2 separate regions of the Homo sapiens genome follow, and region 1 is linked to region 2. The links are contacts of gene promoters, found by promoter capture Hi-C in blood cells and fetal thymus (Javierre and others, 2016). All regions are on one chromosome and are shown on one strand. Each heading gives the region's core, a stretch centred on a gene start or on the middle of the fragment in contact. The rest is flanking DNA. Distances are from core to core; before and after follow the strand shown.

Evidence for each region. The method cuts DNA at HindIII sites, captures the fragments that hold promoters and counts their contacts. A CHiCAGO score of 5 or more calls a contact.
Region 1: a fragment that was not itself captured here is called in contact with the fragment with the promoter of GARRE1 in region 2 in 7 of 17 cell types (naive CD4 T cells, naive CD8 T cells, naive B cells and 4 more); the score reaches 8.7 in naive CD4 T cells.

Annotation. Positions count from the first base shown.
Region 1 is chr19:34,315,665-34,319,944 of GRCh38, forward strand. It overlaps GARRE1 (granule associated Rac and RHOG effector 1), which reads left to right. Exons shown (of 14, transcript NM_014686.5): 3 at 4,243-4,280. Among named protein-coding and RNA genes, the nearest start is that of GPI, 47 kb to the right of the region's middle. RefSeq lists an enhancer at 4,120-4,280. The HindIII fragment of the contact is 3,607 bases long and covers 1,172-4,280 here.
Region 2 is chr19:34,252,913-34,257,163 of GRCh38, forward strand. GARRE1 (granule associated Rac and RHOG effector 1) reads left to right here and starts at 1,642. Exons shown (of 14, transcript NM_014686.5): 1 at 1,642-1,702. RefSeq lists an enhancer at 1,939-2,460. The HindIII fragment of the contact is 8,095 bases long and covers 1-3,757 here.

The sequences.
Region 1 (4,280 bases), core at 1,725-4,224, 64 kb after region 2:
TGTGCCACTGCACTCCAGCCTGGGCAACAGAGCAAGACTCTGTCTCAAAAAAAAAAAAAAAAAAAAAAGGGTAGTTTTTTGGTGCTCCAAATGGGAAGGCCTTAAATTAAAATCTGTTTTACAATCTGAATAAAATATAAATATCATCAAAAAGAAAAGGTATTCTGGTTATGTACATGAATACAACATCCTTAGCAGCAGATGTTGTGTGTGTGCAAGGGAATAGGAAGGTAAAGATGCACCCTTCTCCTCCACCATCAAGGGTTGCTAGAAAACAGGCTCTCATTCAGTAGACCCCGATAGCTGTCTGTAATCCATAGCTCCTTCTCTGATTAGTATTTATCCACTATTGTGGCTTCATTCTGGATCTTGTCATAGGTAGAAAGAGTAGCCTGGTGGTTAGCAACACAGTTTTCGGAGTCAAACAGACCTGGTGTCAGATCCCTACTTATTACCTGCTTGACATTGAGCAAGTTTCTTTATCTCTGTAAACTTCAGTGTTATCATCCGTAAAATGGGTGAATTGCTCACACCCCACAGGGATGGTTCACCAAACATAAGGTGCTTGGTATTTAAACACTCAATAAATGGTAGCTGTTGATAGAGCTTCACTGGCATTTTAAACTTAAAAACCTGCCTTTGGCCACTCTGCTCATCCACTCCCCAGCTTCCCCCATGTGTTCTGCAATTTGACTGAACCACACAGTCCAGGAAACTTTCTCCATGTGAAGGAGAAAATAGCTTTCCACAGCCCTGGGGTCACACTCTCCCAAACTTATGTCAGGAAGACGCCCAAAGACTGGCTCATTCCTGGGTCAAGGAGAGTGGGGTCTGTTTCAGGAGAGGAGCTGAGCTAAGACCTGAGATCCTCGGAGGGGAAAGGTGGGCAGAGGCAGGCTGGAGGTTGAGCTCTGTACTCTCTCAAGAGAAGGTGGTGGTTATGCATCTGTTACTCTGGGTAAATTTTTAGAGCAGATATCTGATGAAACAGCTGTTTCCAAGGTCCAGCGTTAACCATTGGTTTGATTGGCTTTGAATAAGTTATTTACAACACAGATATTTTGTTACAATCATAATTTGTATGACTGAGTTGGTCTCCAGGCATCCTGGGTAGGAGAGGGAGGTGTACAGTAGCTGAGCTGTTGTCCTCATTCCTTATTTATAGGAAAGAAGCTTAGGTTAAATGACTCATCCAAGGTCAAACACATCCTAAGTGGTGGAGACAACACAGACAATGCCTTTTAAACTGACCTGTGTCTCTTCCCCCACTCCTTCCTACAGCAGGGTTCTGCCCTCCTTACTGCCACCCCACAGCAAGAGGGCTTCCTCCACCTCATTCTCCCCAGGGGTGATGGCCTTGTCAGAGAGCATCCTGTTCTTGATCTGGGGGCCCTCCTTCAGGCCTTCAGCCATTCCTCAGAACTTTGCCCCTTAGTAGGGGAGGGGACAGGGTAGCTCTCCCTTTGCCCTCGGTCATTTCCTTGAGGAGCCTTTTCCTTCCCATCCGTCTGTGTTCCTTTCCCAGCAGCACCCGGCCTTGCATATCTGTTCATTGCCTGTTGTCTTCCCCATTAGAATGTCGCCCTGGCGAGAGCAGGGACTTGCTCATTCTCTTTCCAGTAGTGTTCCCAGCTCTTTGTGCTTGGTGCATATCAGGCATCCCCATCTTATATATTTATTGAGAGAATGAATGACTAAGTTGTGTCCATCAGAGCTGTGAGAGTGTGAACCCAGAGCTAATGGAGCATGGCGTCTTCCCTTTTTCCTCCTCCTCCAGCTTCCCATAGCTGCCAAGGTGCTGAGGAAGGAGTGGGAGGAATAGTTTGTGTCCCTGAGGAGCCGGCTCACTCCCCCTCCCTGTGTCTGCAGTGGGTGGGGAGATTGAGGAAACCCTCAGCCTACACCAGTTAAGGTGGAGTTCCTGTCACATGCAAGCCGATGCCAGTTTAGAGTCTGCTGAAGGCAGTGGGGCACACAGGTGAAGGGCATGGACACTTGAGTCAGGTGACTGGTCCACCACATGCAGATTGTGTCCCGTTGACAAAATTTTGTAGCCTTTCTATGCCTTGATCTTGTTGTCTATGAAGGGAGGATGACCTCATAGGGTGGTTCCTGGGATTGAATGCGCTAGCCCATGTGACTCTCCAGCATTGGTCAGGTACAGGCTGTGTGCTCCACTAAAGCTGTCTGTGTGCTCTACAGGACTAAATAGCTGCTGCTTATTCTACTCCTGGCACCTGTCTAACTGGCCTAGGTGCGCTGCCTTCGTGTCCCTCACCCTGCCCAGTCTAGCACAGAGCACTGGGGGAAGGGCTCTGAAGGAGGTGTGAGTGGAAGCCCAGGAGTTTGGGGGGCTTCAGCCTGTGATGTCGGTTGTTGTTCCCTCTGGAGGGCAAGTGCTTTGGTGTGAGATTTGTGTGCGGTTTTTTGTTTGCTTTAGTTTGGTCCTGGTGATTTCCACAGGGTGAGGAGGGATTCGGAGATAATAAGTGTCTTGCTGGGAACTGGCTTGCCCCTGCTTCTCCAAGAAGAAACAGCTCTGACTCTTGGGAACTGAGAGGGCGTGTGGCAAAGGTAGATGCTGAGGCGAGGCAAGGCGAGAGGTCCACATGCGTGCCACAAGGCAGAGAGTCCACGTGTGCACCTGAGGGGAGAGGAAGGTTGAGTCTTACTGTGTGCTGCTCAAGGGACAGGACAGTGCATGGGCACTGTGCTGGATTTTGGTTCCTTGTAAAAAGCAATGGCTATAGTTCCCTGACCTTCACCACTTGCGTGAGGCAGTGGGCTGAGGGCCGGCTGTGAGTAGGCTCTCTCAGGTCCACTCCTGCTCAGCTGGGTGAATTGCAAACTCAATAAAGTAAGTTGTTGTGAATAAGTAATCTGCATAAGCCAAAGAAATATAAAATATCTTCCACAAAAAATTATTAGGGAGCAGGATAAAAGAGCTGCAAAAGGTTTTTGTTGGTATTATTGCCAAATCTGATGTGGGCAAAACAACTATGAGAAATTAGGAAAAAATGTCAATAATCTGGAAGGTTTGTGGTCAAGTTGCTTTGTAAGTGGCCAGTTTTTGCCCTGTGTTAAAGAGGAAATAAGGCCGGGCATGGGAGCTCATGCCTGTAATCCCAGCCCTTTGGGAGGCCGAGGCAGGTGGATCACCTGAGGTCAGGAATTCAAGACCAGCCTGGCCAACATGGTGAAACCCCGTCTCCACTAAAAATACAAAAATTAGCCGGGTGTGATAGTGCACCGAGGTCAGAGAATCGCTTAAACCCAGGATGTGGAGGTTGCAGTGAGCCGAGATCACGCCACTGCACTCCAGCCTGGGTGACAGAGCGAGACTCCATTTCAAAAAAAAAAGATAAATAAGAAATGATAGAGAACACATTGTAACTGTGGTTTATGCAAGAAAGTAACAGGGAGGAGCAGCAAAGGAGCTGTCAGAACAGCCTTAGCCCATACCAGAAGGCTGCCAGAGAAATGCACAATCATATCTGAAAATGTTTGTGGCACATAGTATATATTTAGTATACATCTTATTATAATTACATATTCATGTGTATAGTATTTTTTAAGTTAATTTCCTACTTGGACTATTAGCAACCAATCACTGATATATATCAGGTTAATGGGTTTCTACTGTACTCATGAGTGGAGCTGTCCATTATATTTTCTTGACTCCTGGAAGACTGGTCTGTCAGCTTTGTTTCCTAAGACTGGAATGATGACATACAACTATGTTAATAACTATGTTAACACTCCTACTAAAATAACCGGTATATTTGGATTCCATTTTCAACGGAATGTCTTATGGTCAAACTGGCCTTCTTTCAGATTTTTAGTTGCATGGTTTTTCCTTTACCTTCTGAATACTGTATGGACGTAATTGCTGTTGTGGATGGCTGTGGTTCAGCAGGAGCTCAAAGACACCAGAAGTGGTGTGAGTCCAGATATAGGGGGTGGAGACAGGATTGGGGGTTACTTGGTGGGAAATGGGAAGAATTATTTCAACCTTGGGCCTTGTTATTTGATGGAAATGTTTTGACTTCCAGGCATCAGTCACCGAGGTCCAAACACAAAAACAAAGGCAGATCCTTCTGAAGCATGGTGGCCTTTTAACTTTGTATGATTTTGGATTTCCAGTTAACTATTGCTTCTATTCAAGTTGGTCATTGAAAATTTACTGCGCGAATCCAACAGCAACCCACAACCTAAACATCCCTGGCTGTCTTGTTTTCACAGGTGTTGGGGCGATGTTTCCTGACTGTGGTGCAAGTCCA
Region 2 (4,251 bases), core at 392-2,891:
ACGCCTGGCTAACTTTTTGTATTTTTAGTACAGATGGGATTTCACCATGTTGGCCAGGCTGGTCTGGAGCTCCTGACCTCAGGTGATCCTCCTGCCTCAGCCTCCCATAGTGCTGGGATTACAGGCATGAGCCACCATGCCTGGCCCGTCTCTATGTTTTTGACTACTCTAGGTACCTTATGTAAGTGGAATCATAGGATATTTGTCTTTGTGACTGGTTTCTTTTGGCATAATATCTTCAAAGCTCATCTATTTGCATCGTAGCTGGGATTATAGGCATGCGCCACCACGCCTGGCTGATTTTGTATTTTTAGTAGAGACGGGGTTTCATCATGTTGGTCAGGCTGGTCTCGAACTCCTGACCTCAGGTGATCCACGCGCCTTGGCCTCCCAAAGTGCTGGGATTACAGGCGTAAGCCACGGCGCCCGGCCTCCTTCAACGCTGAGTAATATTCTATTGTTATGTTTATACCACATTTTGTGAACCCATTCACCCGTGGATGGACATTGGGTTGCTTCCACCTTCTGACTAATATGAACATGGGTGTACACATTTATATCCACTCTTGCCTCCCCTCCGTAGTCCTTCCTTCTCCACACTGCATCTAGAGTAACCCCTTTACACTCTCAAGTATGGACAAATCACCTCTTGCTTAAAACTCATTAGTTTTGCAACACTGTCAAGTAAGACCTAACTTCTCACCACTCTGATTTATTATTGGAACACAAAACTGGGCCATGCTCCGTGGCTCAAGCACTTTGGGAGGCCGAGGTGGGCGGAACACCTGAGGTCAGGAGTTTGAGACCAGCGTGGCCAACATGGGGAAATCCCGTCTCTACTAATAACACAAAAATTAGCCGGGCGTGGTGGCGCACGCTTGTAATCGCAGCTATCCGGGAGGCTGAGGCAGGAGAATCACTTGAACCCGGGAGGTGGAGGTTGCAGCGAGCCAAGATCACGTCACTGCACTCCAGCCTGGGCGATAGAGCAAGACTCCGTCTCAAACAAACAAAACCCACAGAACTGGAAGACCCTTGCTGCTGCTTCTGCGTAATGTGTTCTCCTCCCTTCTCGTTTTTTTTTTTTTTTTTCTCCCTTCTACCCCTTAGGACCTCAGCTCCTGCTCTTTCCCTGGGGGAATTCCGGATCACTCTCCTTTACTAGGTCAGGGTACTCTCTCCCTCCCTCTTACTCTTTCCCCTCCTACCACTTGTCACCATTGGTACTATATTATCACCCGGATATGTGACAATGGTATTGTGTATTTACCACTAAGGAATAAACTTATGAGGGAGAGAGCACTACCCGTTCCTGCAGTGCCCGTCGGGGCCTGGCATCTAGGAAACACTCCATACGCCAGTAATCGATTTCAGTCAATTTCAGTAATAAATCCAGGAGGACGCAGCCCGACCCCTCCCGCCCGGGGGCCAAGCCATGGTGGGGGATCTGGGTGGACCTCCGGCTCTGGCCGCCAGTCCTCAACCTCCGCCCCGGCCGTCCCGCTTGGGGGCCCAGGGTCCCAGGAGAGGAGGCTCCGGGGCGCCCCCTCCCCTCTAATGCGAGAGGAGAGTCCGCTCTAGGCGCGGGATCCGCAACCTCCCCGCGTCCGCCCGAGGCGGGGGCGGGGCCGGACCGGAGACGTAACTTCCGGTGTACACAGCCGGTCCAAGGCGGTGCGCTGGGGGCCGGGGCGCGTCGCAGGTGAGGAGCGGGCGCGGCGGGCGCAGGCGGGGGCTGGCGGGCGGGGTCGGGCGGTGGGCGGTGGGCAGCGGGGCCGCGGGCCGCAGCCAGGGCAGACGGCGAGACGGGCCCGCGGGGCGCCGCTCCGCTCGGGGCCGCAGGGCGCGGGGCCGTGGGCTCCCGCCCCTTGCCCGCCCGCTGTGGAGGACGCCGGGCTTTGCGGGCGCTGGCCGGCCGACGGAAGCCCGGAGGGGCCTCCTGGCGCGAACCCGGGACCTGGGGGCGCGTCGGAGACTCGGCGGCCGCGGCACCGCAGGGGCGGGTCGGCGCCCGTCAGGCGGGGAAAGGGGACGCTCCCTCGGTTCGCCGGGGCCCGGGAGGTCGCGCTGGCGCCAGGACCCGCTCCCGGAAGCCCGCGGAGGGAGGGCGGCCTGCTGGCGGCAGGGGTCCGCTGGGGCTAGCCGGGGAGGCGGCCCTCACGCCATCCCGGGGCTGCCGGGCGGGCTGCGCGCACCTTCCCGGCGGCGCCAGGCTGCCGAGGAACGCGCTTTTCCGGCCCTGCGGAGCCAGCTGGCGCATTGGGCCCGAGGGGAGGGTCCGCGGGGACCGGGAGGGCCGGGGCTGAGCGTGGAGGACCCGAGCCCGAGGGACGAGCGCAGAGTCAGGGGTGTGTCTTTCTGCGCCGCGCGGTGCGAGGAAAGAAGCGTGCCTGGTTGGCATGATAAGAATTTTGTTTAGACTTTTTAGAAATTTTCCAGAGACTCAGCTTTGGGGGCCTCCAGTTTGAAAATACCTTGTTCTGGTCCCTCATCCCCATTATAAAAGCAGTTAATTCTCCTTTCCTGGCAAAACACTCAAGACGACACAAAAAGTCTTAAGGTAGAAAATGACAGTCATCTGCCAGTCTACCATTCAGTGACAACCACTGCTAACATTTTGGTGATAATCAATAAATACAGATAGGTATTGTTATTTTTATGGACTTTACAGTATGTGATTTAACCACCGATGAGCATTGAGATAGTTTCCAATTTGTCACAAGATAAACAATTCTGCCGGAAGGATTTGTTTGATATGGTCTTTTTTTTTTTTTTTTAATAAGAGACTGTTGCCCAGGCTGGTCTCAAAACTTCTGGCCTCAAGCGACCCTCACGCCTTCGCCTTCCAAAGTGTTGGGATTACAAGTGTGAGATATTACACCTGGTCTGATTGTTATCTTAGAATAAATTTACAAATGGGGTCAAAGGTAACTTTATTTGTTTTTTTTTGAGACAGTCTCCCTCTGTCACCCAGGCTGGAGTGCAGTGGCGGGATCTAGATTAACTGCAACCTTAGCCTCCCGGGTTCGAGCGATTCTCCTGCTTTAGTCTCCCGAGTAGCTGAGATTACAGGCACCCACCACGCCCGGCTAATTTTTGTATTTTTAGTAGAGACAGGGTTTCGCCCAGTTGACCAGGTTGGTCTCGAACTCCTGACCTCAGGTGATCCGCCTGGCTCGGCGTTCCAAAGTGCTGGGATTATAGGCGTGAGCCACCGTGTCCGGCCGTAACGTTCAATTTTTAAGAATACATAGTATTTGTTTTCCTTTGACATATTTGGACAATTTTTCTGTCTCTTTGTCATAAAAAAAAATTCCAGCCTGGCGCGATGGCTCATGCCTGTAATCCCAGCACTTTGGGAGGCCGAGGCGGGCGGATCACTTGAGGTCAGGAGTTCTAGACCAGCCTGGCCAACGTGGTGAAACCCGGATTCAACTAAAAAAATACAAAAAAACACATTAGCCAAGCATGGTGGCGCGCTCCTGTAGTCCCAGCTACTTGGGAGGCTGAGGCAGGAGAATCGCTTGAGCCCAGGAGGCGAAGGTTGCAGTGAGCCGAGGTCGTGCCACTGCGCTCCAGCCTGGGCAACAGAGTGAGACTCCATCTCAAAAAAAAAAAAAAAGAAATTCATGTTTGCGTCTCATCGTTTCATGGTTTTATTTTTTTGCCTTTAGTCTACCTAAAATTCATTCTTGGTTTAAAATATGAAATATTTTGTAAATGGCTAGTCAGTTCCAGATTTATTGAATAATATGTAAGCTTTATCATTTTATCATATTTTAGACTAAAAGTTCTAAGTGTATGTTTGTAAGGGCTACTTACAAAGTTCATATTTACATTTTGTGTGTGCTTAGATGTTTTCAAGTGTCTTTAAAAATCACAGTATTTTCTTTTCACAGTATCTTCACAATATTTTGTTTTAAAAAGAAATCATTTTCCAATACAAGTACAGGGAATATTTCATGTTTGAGATTTTTTTTTTCTTTTTAAAGCAAAAAGTTTAGTTTATTGCCGTTTCATTTGCTTTCTTGCTGACAAGATAACAAACTCCATATGAAGAGTTCAGGTTTGTTGTGGCAACTTTTCAGTGTGGCATTTGAGATTCTAATCTTCCTCTATTTTTGCACACAAATACGTAGGTTGGCATTGGAGACCAAGATAGAAAAGTTCTCAGATTCCCTTGGCAAGCCTAGATTTTTCAATCTAAAATTATCTCCAGATGTTTGGAAGACCATGTTTTAAGCATCCTTT